Linked DNA regions of Homo sapiens: regions 2 and 3 are each linked to region 1. Evidence: promoter capture Hi-C in 16 types of primary human blood cells and fetal thymus (Javierre and others, 2016). All regions are on one chromosome and are shown on one strand. The core of a region is centred on a gene start or on the middle of the fragment in contact, and the rest is flanking DNA. Distances in the headings are between cores, read along the strand shown. Region 1 holds the start of CALHM6 (calcium homeostasis modulator family member 6). Region 2 has its middle 16 kb from the start of DSE. Region 3 overlaps TRAPPC3L (trafficking protein particle complex subunit 3L).

Region 1 (4,680 bases), core at 2,181-4,680:
GCCTTTACTTCCTCTTCATGGTTCTTCATGAAGAGCAGCTGCTTTTTGAGAGCCTCGATCTCTGTCTCCAGCTGCAGCCGAGTGACATTGGTGTCATCAATGACCTTGTGGACCCCATGGATGTCGCTCTCCACAGACTGGCACATGGGCAGCTCTGTCTCATACTTGACACTGAAGTCATCAGCAGCAAAACAGGCATTGATTTGCAGAACGATGCGGGCATTGTCCACAGTATTTGTGAAGATCTGAGCCCTCAGGTCCTGATGGTCATGAAGTAATGGCTCCAGTCTCTGGCCTGGGGTCCCTTCTTCCCCAGGTGCTCCCGGATTTTGCTCTCCAGCTTCCAGTTCTCGGTCTCCAGGCTCCTCACTCTGTCCAGGTAGGAGGCCAGACAGTCGTTCAGGCTTTGCATGGTCTCCTTCTCATTCTGGATGCCTGCTATCCCTGCCAGACCCCTGGCCATCCCTGCAGCCAGGCCCCCGGATCCCATGCCGCCCCAGAAGCTGGTGGAGCGGGACACAGAGATCCGGGAACCAGAGTCCTGGGTGCCTGCATAGACACTGGCTGCACTGCTGACCAGCTGGGCGATGAAGCTGGGTGTCTGGACAGAGCCCAGGGAATGGTAGTTGGTGGAGAAGGTGGAGCAAGTGGTGAAGCTCATACTGTCCAGGGAGGAGAGCAAGAGGACAGGACTCAGGCTTTACCGATGACATTCTACTACTCATTTCTTAACAGCTGAAGCAAATCACAGGCTTTCAAAAGTGTAAAGACATTTAAAATATTATTTAGTCTACCTCTCCACACCATTAGGGTGTTAGTCAATTTCCACTAAGGGCTGAACTTCTGAGCAATATCCTCTCAGAACAGACCTGGGTATGGAGGGCTGGGAATCTTCAATAGACCCAGAGCTAGAACCAGTCAATCCAGTGGTGGTGGGAGTGGATGGCAGGGTACTAGACTCAAGACCAAGTGCTGGGGAAACATTCAGGCTGGCAGGCAAAACCTGGACTCTCAATTATAGAAACCTGTACTAAGTTCTGAATGATCATTGCATCTGGGAGAGTTGGGTTTGGGAGAGCACAGAAGTAGCAAACCCAGGAGGTGGTGTTTAGAGACACAAGCTGACAAGACAATATGTCAGGATGCAGCTCAGTCTGTGAAAGTTTCAGAGGCAGAATTGCAGACTACATATTCTGGTCTGTGAAGCACCTAAACCTGACCTTCCACTTGCAGCTTTGGCCTCATGATGTGCCAACTTGCCTGTCATTCTCAATGCTCCCATCACTCTAGCCTTCTTTCTAACCAAGCTCCTTTGTACTCCAGACTCATTCAGATTAAATGTCAGTTTCTCACAGAGGCTCTTTCAGGACACTCTCTAACTCCAATTTATCCTGTGCGTAATCTTTAGGACCCCTCCTCTCCATTTCCTATATCATCTCTACTGTAAGTTCAAAGACGGCAGGATACCTGTGTCTTCTTCCTTGTTGTATCCAGCAATACCAGGCACTTTTGATAGGTACTTGACATATTCTGAGTACTTATTAAACATTTAAATGAATGACTGAATGAACAAATGAACTAATTAATAACTGGTTAACAAATGAATTAATCTAGTTGGGGAAGGGGGCTGATAGATAAAAGTTTCTGTAAGTAAACATATTTCAAACAAATCCTTGACTAAATAACAGAAGCCAGGGAAGAGAAGGTGATGGACTTCATTAGAGTCTTAAAAAATGAAGGGAATGAAAACAGACCATAGGAATGAGGTGAAGGAGGAGATGGTGCTGATTAGATTGAGCCTCAGTGGATGATAAACTATTATAGCACAGTGGTAAAACCCTGGTATGGCTATCAGCAGGTAACCAGGAAAATGCCAGCCATCCCTCTTGGTTTGAGAGATGTGGGAGAATAAATTAATCTCACTCAAGAAGACAGAAGGATGCATTTTTATTAGGTTTCGGTTAGGGGAGATTTGGATAAAGCCATCTGCACAAAGGTTGTGGATATAGTGATGTTTCTGCATGATGGAATATGGGAAAGGGTGGACGAGAGAGGACACATCTTAGAGTATTATGGTAGAGGTGAAGAAGAGTCCAGCAGTAAGAGGAGAGTTACTCAAGGCACAGGGGAAGAAATTTATCTTGGGAGATGACAAATTACAAAGATAACAGTCAGAGCAGAAGTGATTCGCTTCAAACACGCAACTTTGCTGCAAGTTGACAGGAAGCCTAGCAGTATCTGGTCTAATCTCAGAGAAGAGGGCCCCAACTTTCCTGCATGACCATGAAGACCCTCATCTGGGGCTGGCCCCTAAACACATAGAAAAAAGATGTCTATTTACCACATCACTATGGAATGACAGCTTTTGGCACTACGCTAGGCACCCTGCTGGTGGTGTTGGAGAGGGAGTAGTTAAGAAGGCAAGTTGGACTAAGAAAAGAATAATACATTTCTTGTCCATTCTCTAAAAATTCACTTGGTTCCATGGGCTACCTATTCTTTCCAGATAAAATAAGGCAAGCCTGGTGGATGGGCACCAATAAGAACCATTTCATTGTGAACTGCCCACCCAAGCTCCATATCCAGATACTCTCCTTGTGGTGAAGCAGACAGCTAAGGTGTACACCAATTCTCTTAAGGTAGCAGAGTCATTGAGTCACTTAATACTATCCACTGAATTGATCCTCGTTTAAAATTCAAAATTCAGTATTCATCAAGATTCTTAGGTTATGTACAATGTAATTATTTGTTGTCTATTCCCCAAATTGCATTTTAAGGGGAAAACTCTCACACTGATCATTCATTTAACAGACATATCCTATATGTAAAGGCACTTTACATATGCTACTCAATCTACTCATGTCAGTAATCTTGAAAAGTGGGCACTATTATCCTTCTTTTACAAATAAGGATGCTGTGTCTCAGAGGGGCATACTTGTTAAACACACCACAGACAAGATGCACTTGACTTCAAAGCCCATGTTCTTTCAAGCACACCTCAGCTCAGTCTGGAGTCACACAGAGTAAGGCTCAATATCACAAAAGTGGTTACAGTGTTTGTGTCAGAACAACGCTGCTTGAGAAAACTGAAGGTGGAGGAAACAACATTAGATAGATGTAGCTGCAGTTTGAAATTTTGGGTTCAACTAGCATTCTTTGAATAATCATGTATCCCCTTCTGTGCAGATCAGCTTGGTGGTCAGAGTCAGAATTTTACTCTCCTCCAGGCATTGACAGTGTTATGACATATCTGAAAGAAAAGAACATTGTATTGACGAGTAAATCAATACAGTATATTTGGTCTAATGTCCTGAAGGAGATCAGGCAGAGGAGAGAAGAGTCAGTGTGAACTAGGCTGGTGGCTCTGTCCGGTAGGGAGATGGAAAGGGTGCCGCCCATCATAGAAGTACCAGAACTTGAGCTGGACTTTGCTGATTTAGCTTATGGAAGAGGAACCAGAAATTTGTCCTTGAATAATGTTTCCCGTAAGTAATCAGTTTTTTGATAATTATTTGGTTTTACTGTGATCTGGCTTAGTAACTAGGGTGGCTGCAATAGAGGAAAATCTGGTATTTCCCAGTTTTTCCAACTGGCGGCCGTGGGTCAAGAAGGTTAGTTTCCTGGTTCGTTGTCAGATTGGTGGTAATAAAGGAACAAGGTCAACCTTCTGTCAGAGTTCCTGAATTGGGGGAGGAAGATAACTGGTGCCTCTGCCTTTGGAATGGGGTGGGTGCCAGAGAAGTCAAGGTCCTGGGGGTGTTTGCTTGCCTGGTTCTGTTAACCAGAGGTGGTGTGGCTGAAATGAGAAAGTGAAACTTTAGGAAGGTCTGAGAAGCCCTCTTCCCTTTAAAAAAAAAAAAAAAAAGGCTGCTTCTCGCAGAGTGGAAAGCCCCGGTCCCCATCCCACCAAAACCATTTGACAAGCAGGACAACGAAGAGGCAGAAGGATCTGGGCCTGTGCGCGACGCCCCGGGGGACGAGGCTCATGGAGAAGTTTCGGGCGGTGCTGGACCTGCACGTCAAGCACCACAGCGCCTTGGGCTACGGCCTGGTGACCCTGCTGACGGCGGGCGGGGAGCGCATCTTCTCCGCCGTGGCATTCCAGTGCCCGTGCAGCGCCGCCTGGAACCTGCCCTACGGCCTGGTCTTCTTGCTGGTGCCGGCGCTCGCGCTCTTCCTCCTGGGCTACGTGCTGAGCGCACGCACGTGGCGCCTGCTCACCGGATGCTGCTCCAGCGCCCGCGCGAGTTGCGGATCGGCGCTGCGCGGCTCCCTGGTGTGCACGCAAATCAGCGCGGCCGCCGCGCTCGCGCCCCTCACCTGGGTGGCCGTGGCGCTGCTCGGGGGCGCCTTTTACGAGTGCGCGGCCACCGGGAGCGCGGCCTTCGCGCAGCGCCTGTGCCTCGGCCGCAACCGCAGCTGCGCCGCGGAGCTGCCGCTGGTGCCGTGCAACCAGGCCAAGGCGTCGGACGTGCAGGACCTCCTGAAGGATCTGAAGGCTCAGTCGCAGGTCTGCCGCTGGCGCTGGGGGCGTTTGGGAGGAGCCGAGAGGCCGAGCTTTCTCAGGGCCGCTGGGGTGAGGGAAAAATCGGTGACTTTTCTCCAGATATACAGTACCCTAAGAAAATCTAGAATGGCTCCTTGCATCTAATTTGCCGTCAAGAGAATATCTGAATAAAA
Region 2 (4,680 bases), core at 681-3,180, 110 kb before region 1:
GGGCAAGCTCTGGGTGGGCAAAAAATAGGCTTTCCAAAACTCACCTAGCTTTCCAGCCCACCCCACGTACATGCCCCACACGTGAAGTCTTCCTTTCTTTCCTCGTTTCTTTCTCCTTCCCCCCTCCTCCTTCCTCTCTCTCTTTCTCTCTTCCAGAATGAATGATTTGTATGACTGTGGAATGTGTTTGTCAGACAAGTCCATCAGGGACTTATAACAGTCCCTTAATAGGGTAAGAGAGAGATATGAGTCTTGTGGTCATAAGTGGTTGGGCTTCCCCACTACCTCATTCATTTATGTTAGCTAACTATTAAAATCTAGGTCTTTACTAATTTATAGTTAAAATATACATAGGAGTAAATGTGTGTTTGTGTGTGTGGGTCTGTGTGTGTATAAACACTGATGGATATTTTTCCAAATGAACTGATGATGACCTCTAACTTCTGGTTCATGAGAAGGAACTTTATGTCCTACTTTTGCTCTGGAAAAATGAAAAGACTGCTAAGGGGGAGTAGTCATGATGGAATTGTGCATGTGTGTGTTAGGTAATATTGGGTGGAAAATTAAGGGATATTTTCCTTTGTAGTATTCCAAATAAATCTGTTTATGTGATAGATAGTTACTTGGAATAAATATCTTTCTTCATGAGTGCCTTCTTAATTTCCAGAAAAATCTTATAAAGGTTTCTCAGTAAGGTTCTTTAAATAAACTTTGTTTCAATCATAATAATACTAGCTACCATTGAGCATTTACACTTCCTAGCATTGTGTCCAACACTTTACATTCTTTATCTCTCATCCTTATACTCTCAAAAGATGAGGCATTGATATTCCCAGAAAACTGAGATTTGGGGAGGCTAAGTAAATTTGCTTAAGGTTATGGAACAAATACATTGCACAGCTGTTACTTGATCATAGATCTGACTGTCTCCAACCATTGGACACTTACTGTTGTCACATAAGGGGATTCAGACAGATATCTAGCTTATTTTATAACTGTTCTCATTTGATGAGAGATTGTCTATAAAGATGTTTGGTTTTTGTGAGCTTTAATGGCTGATGTAAAACAATTTGGTAATTATTTTAAATTTAAAAAAATCTTATAATCAATCTAAACATACTCCTATGTCATATACTGAGACTCTTAGAAAATATTTTAGAGTAGAGGCAAGCAGTCTTCAGATACTGAATTATAATGCCTATCTACTTTTAAAGAGTGATATGACACCACTTTCAAAAATCTAGACTTCAGATGGCTTCCAAATGTACACCTATATCTACAGCAATACTTGGATATAGTATTTCCTGAAATATAGTCTTTCTCTTAAAGAAAAAAAGAATAATATTAGTTCAGGTCCTTGATATATGAGGCAAGGATTAGAGATTTGTTAAGTAAATGTTGACCCAGACTATATAACTCTAATGAGCAAAATCCCTTTAAAATTTTTAAGGAGATGGGATAACAGTAAGTAATATTTATTGAAAGCCTGTTGTGTGTTATGTGCTACTAGGAGCTTAGACAACATAACCTCATGTGGACCTTACAACTGCTCTGGAGGTCAGTCATTGTTCTTGAGTCGGGCTCTTTTTTCTGGTATAAGAAACAGAGTCACCCCCTCATGCTGTCTCAAAAGGCATGAGTTATTTTAAGGGAGAGTGGGTGGAGGGTTTGTACAGTAAGGGAACCAGGAAGCTCATGGAATTGTCATACAATCTGGCCTTACAAGCACTTCAGTTACAACTCTGTCAAAATGGGAAGGGGCTCAAGAAACTTGCTTTTCCCATCTAAGGAAAGGATGGTATTTTCTGGCTTTTGGTGAGGTGATTTATCTTCAGAATGGGTCTAATCTGAAAACAGACCCCACTGGGCAGAAACATGAAATCCATGTTCATAATTATGTAAATGAAATGAAAATTACTTGCATTCTTATAACATCTATATAAAAATTATAATTTTCTGTTTATTTTCCCACAGTTTTTCCTGTAATTATATTTTTTGGTTACATTACTTTTTATAATAAAATAGTGACATGTTTTACATTACTTTTTATAATAAAATAGTGACAGGTTTTATAATAAAATAGTGACAGGTTTTATAAAAAGCCAATCTGTAATTGGCTTTTTAATGAAATGTGCTTTCCATGGAAATACGCCAAATTTGACACTGGTGTCAATTTCACTGTACTCATTCACATATATAATACACACTACACATTTTTACATAGACACATACATATATAAAGGCACACATACCTATATGCGTAATTCATTTAAGCATTTTTATTATTGGACACTTGAGTTGTTTTCAGTATTTTGCTAATTTAAACAACACCATGTTGAACAACTTTGCATACATACAGTTTCACACATACGTGCATATATTCTAAGGAGTGGAATTGCTGGATGCAAATTTACATACCTTTTAAAGATTTGTTACATATTTGTCCTCCGAATCCTCTCTCAAAGTATTGTACCAATTTATACTTCCCCCAGCATTATATGAGACTCACAATTTCTGTGTACCTTCCTCAAACCTTCACATTCTTCTAATTTGAGCACTTCAGGTATGACCAGACTGTAGAGCCTCAGGTTACTGCTTATTTACCAATTGTTTTTCAGCTGATACTTTTAAGCCTTCTACTCCAATTAGGCCACAGACTCCTATTTCCTTTCCTTTTAGGATAATGCTGGCTAGGGCTCATTTAGCCTAATTTCTGTTTTGTGCCCTAGTAGAGTAGCTTCCTTTGTCCATGCTTAAATGATTTCAGAAGTCTAAAAGCGAATTTTCCAATACATATACCCGCTTCTTTCATGTCAGTAAAATAAAAGCATTATGGGACTGCTCAATTTGATATGTTATCTCAACTAATCTGTTAATACTAAATTGCAGACACTCAAAGGTGAGAATCAGTCCTAGGAAGATTGTGAGCAACCAGTCTACAATGCAAATACTAAGCAGGCTCAAAAGCAGATCTATAACTACAGCTGCAGCTCCATCAAGGCAACAAGTGGACACATCCTGGCAAAGTACAATCTGACCTCCTTTGTTTTACATTTGCTCATTGTTCTTTAACACATTTTAACTTGAAAAAGTTAAATAGCCTTCAATAACAAGACAATTACACTGTCATAGAATTAGTGTTGAAATCTTCCAGCTCACATACTAGACAAAACATAGTTCGCCCAATAACTATCTGGAGGATCCCTGAAGAGGATGCTAACCACATGACTATTGCTTCCCTTATTCAACCCACCCCTGAATGGCATGAAGGCTGTTAGCTCAGAGTGAAGAGGCTTTTAAACGCTGTCCTGTAGATTGGTATGGACAGGCTGCACTTCCGATTTATCTAGAGAGATATAAGACATGATCCATGGCCAAGGTAATGGGGTGGGCTCAGACATTTTTAAGTTCCTCCAGTAATTTTGGTAAATAGTTCTAGTTTTTGGAACTATGGCTCAGAGCATCAAAGAGAAATGTAGCTCCTGCTCCCATCCTGTGAACTTTACACAACTGCCTAAAGCTATGATATCTAATATGGTAGACAGTAGCCACTAGGCACATGTGGCTATTGGCCACTTGAAGTATGCATAGCTAGTCAAGATTTCAAAGACTTACACTAAAACCATAATGTTTTGGACATAGGGGGTTACATAAAAGTATTATAAGACCTAATTTCATCTTTTTAAAAACATATTTTAATGTGGCAATAAAGCATTTAAAGTTACATAAGTGGCTTACATTATATTTCTACTGGACAATTTTGATCTAGAAGGCATAGGTTCCATAGCTCAGGAACTTTGAGTCATAAAATTTTAAAGTTATAGGAATCTTGTAGATGAAACAATTATCTCACTTTGCGAATGACGAAACAGGTACCCCATTGGTAAAGTGACTTATTCTGGTAACCTGAGTTGTTGGTAGAGCCAGGGTATTCCCGAATCCCACAACTCTGGATTTCCATCCAATGCTAGCTTCTCCCTCCCGTGCTGCTTGTCTTTGGCGACAGTAGCCACACTGAGTGTTTTAGGATTCCTAGAATTCTGAGGCATAGAAAGCCTCACCACTCATAGCCCCTGCTGTAGTCTCTGCTCACCAGATTCTGTTTGCATAACTAATGCGTCCAAATTCATTACTACAGAACCATAGTCATGCCCTTAAGCAGATGCCTCCTCTTTTCACCATCTCACATTATTAGTTTTGCCTCCACACGGAGCTATGGTTTAAGTGAGGCCTTAGTATCTTTGCAAAATATGGTTCCAAAAAACAAATTCTACTTATTTGAGTAGTGTGACATTCACTAATAATATTTCTCCCACCCGCATGTTTACTAACATTCTGGTTTTCTCTGGCATCCAGAGAACAATGTTTCTTCTTCTCCAGTACTAGTTAGAAGGATCAAGTGTTGATGGGTGGTGAGCCCCTCCCTGGCTCATGCCCTTTAGCCACAAAAACAAGTTATCAGCCGGGCACGGTGGCTCAAGCCTGTAATCCCAGCACTTTGGGAGGCCAAGGCGGGTGGATGACGAGGTCAGGAGATCGAGACCATCCTGGCTAACACGGTGAAACCCCGTCTCTACTAAAAATACAAAAAATTAGCCGGGCATGGTAGTGGGCACCTGTGGTCCCAGCTACACAGGAGGCTGAGGCAGGAGAAAGGCATGAACCCAGGAGGCAGAGCTT
Region 3 (4,680 bases), core at 1,316-3,815, 64 kb after region 1:
CACCCCCAGGGTGTCTGATTCAGTAGGTCTGGGGTGAGGCAAGATAATCTGCATTTCTAACAGGTTCTCAGGTGATACTGATGCTGCTGGTCTAGGGACTACATCTTGAAAATAACTGCTCTACAGCACAGAGCAGGCTATTCTGGGGAAGGCAGGCTGTAAGAAACTCAGAATCCTGGCCTGCACTCCAGATCTACTGAATCGGTCATCAGCCCGTCCAAGATTTTGGGGTGCCTTTCCATTCATTCAAGGATACCTTTCTATTCATTCAAGGATATATTTTGTCCTTTAGGAATATTTTAAAGTTTACTTCACATAAGTTTTACATGTTTCTTGTAAACTCTATTTGTAGGTGTTTTCTTTGTTCCTGTTGTAAATGGTTTCTTTTTTCCACTATATCTTTCTAAGTGATTGTTGTCTGAGTACGTGAAAAGCTATTGTCTTATGCTTATTAATTTTATCTCTCTACTAATTCTTTTATTGTTTGTAGGGCTTTTCAGAATTTGAAAGTAAACATTTTGCAACCTTTGATGACAAAATGGATCTAGACAATAAATAATGAATTCTAAACTATTAGGTGAAAGCAGAATGGGGTCAGACCTATGCAATTTGAAGCCACTCATCTATATTAGCATCACTAAAAATCAAAGCAGATGCTACGTGCCTTATGATGCAAGGCAAGAATAAGTACATAGTATCACATGTGAAATATTGTTTCCTAAGAAGCTAAACCTAATCAAGTATTTAGACATTACTGCTAGTTTATAGGAAACATAAGCAACAAAAAACAAGGCAATTAGCACCACAAAAAAACAACCAGGTACATCTAGATCTAACAGAACATTCCATTTTACAGATGACTCAGTCTCCCCACAGATTAACAGTATTAAGAAAGGAGAATAAAGGAGATATAAGTGACTTAATAACCAGATATGCTATATAGACCTTATTTGTATCCTGTTTCCAACAACCAACTGTAACAAGATATCTTTGAGATATTTAGGAAAATATGAATGAATATTAGATGATTTTTAGAGAATTATTAATTTTGCTATGTGTGGTAATGGTGTGCCGATTTATGTTTTTTAAAAAGTTCTTCAGTTAGAGATGTATATTTAAATATTTATGTGTGAACTGCCATGATGTCTAGAAGTTTCTTTAAAATACTCTAGAAAAAAGAGTTTAGGGAGAAAGCTGAAAGATGAAATAAGATTGGCAAAATATGGAAACTATTGAAGCTGGATGGTAGGTACACGGAATTCATTACATTATTCTCTTTACATTTGTATATGTTTGAAAAATTTCATAAGGTACACAACAAAATAAATGACATGGTCACCTCAGTTATTTTGCTGAAGTTTTGTCAATCACCCCCTGCTTAGCTGGAGTTTACCTTCTAGTATCATTCTCAGCAAAGGCTCACAGGAATGCTATTCTCTGAATTCTTACATATTCAGCCTGTTGGCCTGTTCTCGAATTGAAGGACAGCTTGTCTGGTTCATACTTTCTCTACATGAGTGTATTGTAAGCATTACTTCATTGTCTTTTGTCATTGAATATTGCTGAGGTGGCCACAGCCTGATTTCTGATGCCATCTCTATTTCTTTCTTTATTACTAACAAGATGTTTTATCCTATATTCTCATTGGTTTCTTTATCTTTCATGTCCAAAAATGTTAAATAGGCCTTCAGGTAGGTCTTTTTGGAACGATTTTTCCTGCTACAAGTTTACTCTTTCATTGTGGAGAATCATTTTCTTATATTTCAATAAAAAAGTTGGAAAATTTTCAACTTATTTTCCTTTCTGTGCTATATCATTTTCAAGAAACTATATTGTTTTGAATTTAAAACTAAACCACTCCTATATTCCTATTGGAATTTCATTAATTTAATTTAAAAAACTAAGTTAACTTGAAGTCTTGGCTCTTGTTTCATCTAAGTTTCACAAGCATACTGGGAGGCAGGTATTACCTTTTCTATGTTTATAAATAATGCTAGAGTCCAAAAAGGCTAAGGTGGTTATGCCACTGTTAAGTTATTGAACATCAATTTGGACCTACATGTGTCTAATCCTAATTTCCATCACACAAATTCTGCCTCATTTTAGTATATTCTTGAGTGTTCATATAACTTTTCAAAGTATGTTCCCTCATTTGTAAAATGAGGATGTTGAATTAGTACATCTCAAAGTCTCAACTCTGTTGTCCTAAATCTTACAGCCAGTGGTGTGTGAATTCCCAGCCAGTTGTATTCTTAATATCCTCTTGGGAATAGAGGTCTATCTCCAAGTTTCCTGGCCTCTGTCTGGGCCCCTGGATTCTTTCCCATCCTGAACAGCTTTTCACCTTGGGTTTCTAAATATTTAGGATAGTTATGCTCAAACTATGCTCCTACTGTATCAATGAAGTAAACTTTCCATTTTATTTTTTTAAAAATTTCCTTAGATAAAAATGACAATTGATATAGAAGGAATTTTTAGCAGTGGAAAGTTTATAAAAGATTTCAAATAGTCCCCAAACTTTAATTTTTATATATTTTAGAGTCCACCTTTCTGTCTGGCCAGCTATCTTTTTATAATTTTGGGTTTCCTGTACCTACAGCCACAACAATGCCAGAGAGAAATCTTCACAAGTTTTAAATTGCAATGAAAACTTGAGATTAAAATGGGAAAATGAATTAATTACTTCACCTAATCACATTCACTGGGCCATTTCAAGAAATAGGATTAAGTCAGCAAAGTAAGAACTCATGATATTAAGTAACTTTGCTTAAGAACAGTACCTTAAGATATATGCATTATTCGGCAGTTTATAACCTATAAAATGGTGACTAGTTGCATTGTAAAAACATTCTGTGCCTATATTTTATCATAAAGAGATGTGCTTCTGCAATCATAATAATTGCTGATGGTTTCAACAGAACACAATTATTTCTCCCAGGGGTTTTGTTGGTATTTGTGTCACGGAGGAAACATGAGGGATAGTAATCAGTGTTTTTAAAAGGGTTACTTCCTTAAACAGTTGGCTAACTATGAGTGGGTTTCACCGACCCTATGCATGAAGTCAAGCAATTAAAGAAATATATGCTTACAAACTGATCCATTTCCACCTTATTTTGAGAAATGTCCTCAAAAACACAGCCTCCTTCCCTACCTCTTTCCCTATAGACAAGTTTGTTGTCCCAACTAAAGGTGAGATGGACTTTGTTTCAATCAAAACTGTTCCACTTTGATCATATCTCTCTAGTGTTTTCCACTTTTTTTCCAAATGGATTTTTATTTTATTTGAAGCATGTAAAAGACATAAAAAGAGAGGTAACTAGGAGAAGAATTTGGATGGAGGGTCTGGAGGCGTGGCAGCCTTAACCTGCAGCCTCACTTCTATAGGAATCACCCTAGAGTTCCACAGAACAAAGTTAGGAAACTCTTGTTCTAAACAGTGGAGGCCAATTAGGATCACTTGGAGAGCATTTAAAAAGTTCTAATGCCTGTGCCTTATTCCCAGAGACCACAATTTATTGGGTCAAAAGTAAGTTCTGAAAGTCAGGATTTTTTGGAAAGCTCCAGGTGAGTCTATGCAGGAGCTAGAATTGATAACCCTTGCCCGGGAGTACCACTGAGAGGTCACGGCAAGTCTGAACAAAATCTTACTTCTGACACAAACTAAACATTACACCAGGCAGGGATGGCCTGGGATTTGGTGTTCCTGATGTGTCTCTGAATCCTTAGACCCAGACAGATCTTGCTTTAGAGTTTTGTTTCCCAGGGTATTTACTCCATGGTTTTTTTTCTTAATAAAGAATTTTATTGTAAATAGTTACATTAATAAATAGCAAAGCTATTGCTATTTTCAGTCCACTTAGGTTTGTTTTAAAGGACTTAAGAATGTGCCACTCCAAAATATTGCCACTTTGACATACATATTCATTATTTTGAGTTATAGGCACTTGAAAAGCAGCAGTCACAAGATTGCTCTGACCTTCCTGCTGTTTCTTAAAGGCAGGAGAAGAAATTCCCATGTGAAGGATATCCTCCCTGTACTAGAAAGAAAGCAACACTCTTAACATCAAGGAGGGACAATTGAGGCTGAGAGGATTCTGTACAGATTTTATTAAAATAATTCTTGTCTTCTTGCCTCCCCAAATAATTTAGTTGCCTTTTCACAAATTACTATTCTTTGTCCAATTCAGTAGGTAAGTGTTCAACTCCTTGGGTCTCCATTTCTTTATTAAAGATTCCCGGCCCGGCGCGGTGGCTCACGCCTGTAATCCCAGCACTTTGGGGGGCCGAGACGGACGAATCACGAGGTCAGGAGATCGAGACCATCCTGGCTAACACGCTGAAACCCCGTCTCTACTAAAAATACAAAAAATTAGCCAGGCTTGGTGGCGGGCGCCTGGTCCCAGCTACTCGGGAGGCTGAGGCAGGAGAATGGCGTGAACCGGGGAGGCGGAGCTTGCAGTGAGCCGACATCGAGCCACTGCACTCAAGTCTGGGCGACAGAGCGAGACTCCGTCTCAAAACAAAAAAAAAAAAAAAAAAAAGATTCCCATGCTATGTGTTAAGTAAATGTGTATGCTTTTTTTCTGTTGATCTGTCTCATGTCAATTTAATTCTCAGGACAACTTTAAAAAAAAATCCTAAGAGGATAGAGGTGAAGTTTTGCCTTCCCTACAGTTTCAT

What was found. The method cuts DNA at HindIII sites, captures the fragments that hold promoters and counts their contacts. A CHiCAGO score of 5 or more calls a contact.
Region 2: a contact is called between a fragment that was not itself captured here and the fragment with the promoter of CALHM6 in region 1, in 6 of 17 cell types (neutrophils, total B cells, monocytes and 3 more). The highest score is 13.3, in neutrophils.
Region 3: a fragment that was not itself captured here is called in contact with the fragment with the promoter of CALHM6 in region 1 in 9 of 17 cell types (total B cells, naive B cells, monocytes and 6 more); the score reaches 25.8 in total B cells.

The regions. Positions count from the first base shown.
Region 1 is chr6:116,457,945-116,462,624 of GRCh38, forward strand. CALHM6 (calcium homeostasis modulator family member 6) reads left to right here and starts at 3,431. Exons shown (of 3, transcript NM_001010919.3): 1 at 3,431-3,485; 2 at 3,928-4,510. The coding sequence starts at 3,986. CALHM6-AS1 (CALHM6 antisense RNA 1) reads right to left here. Exons shown (of 2, transcript NR_174951.1): 2 at 2,534-3,250. It also overlaps the pseudogene KRT18P22. RefSeq lists enhancers at 3,837-3,946, 3,957-4,036 and a silencer at 4,417-4,496. The HindIII fragment of the contact is 9,761 bases long and covers 1-4,680 here.
Region 2 is chr6:116,352,791-116,357,470 of GRCh38, forward strand. It overlaps a transcript of DSE not described here. Among named protein-coding and RNA genes, the nearest start is that of DSE, 16 kb to the right of the region's middle. RefSeq lists an enhancer at 1-47. The HindIII fragment of the contact is 8,563 bases long and covers 1-4,680 here.
Region 3 is chr6:116,522,999-116,527,678 of GRCh38, forward strand. The region is part of intron 3 of TRAPPC3L (trafficking protein particle complex subunit 3L); the gene reads right to left. It overlaps CALHM5 (calcium homeostasis modulator family member 5), which reads left to right. Exons shown (of 2, transcript NM_153711.5): 2 at 1-1,790. Among named protein-coding and RNA genes, the nearest start is that of CALHM5, 14 kb to the left of the region's middle. RefSeq lists a silencer at 3,834-4,034. The HindIII fragment of the contact is 5,494 bases long and covers 1-4,680 here.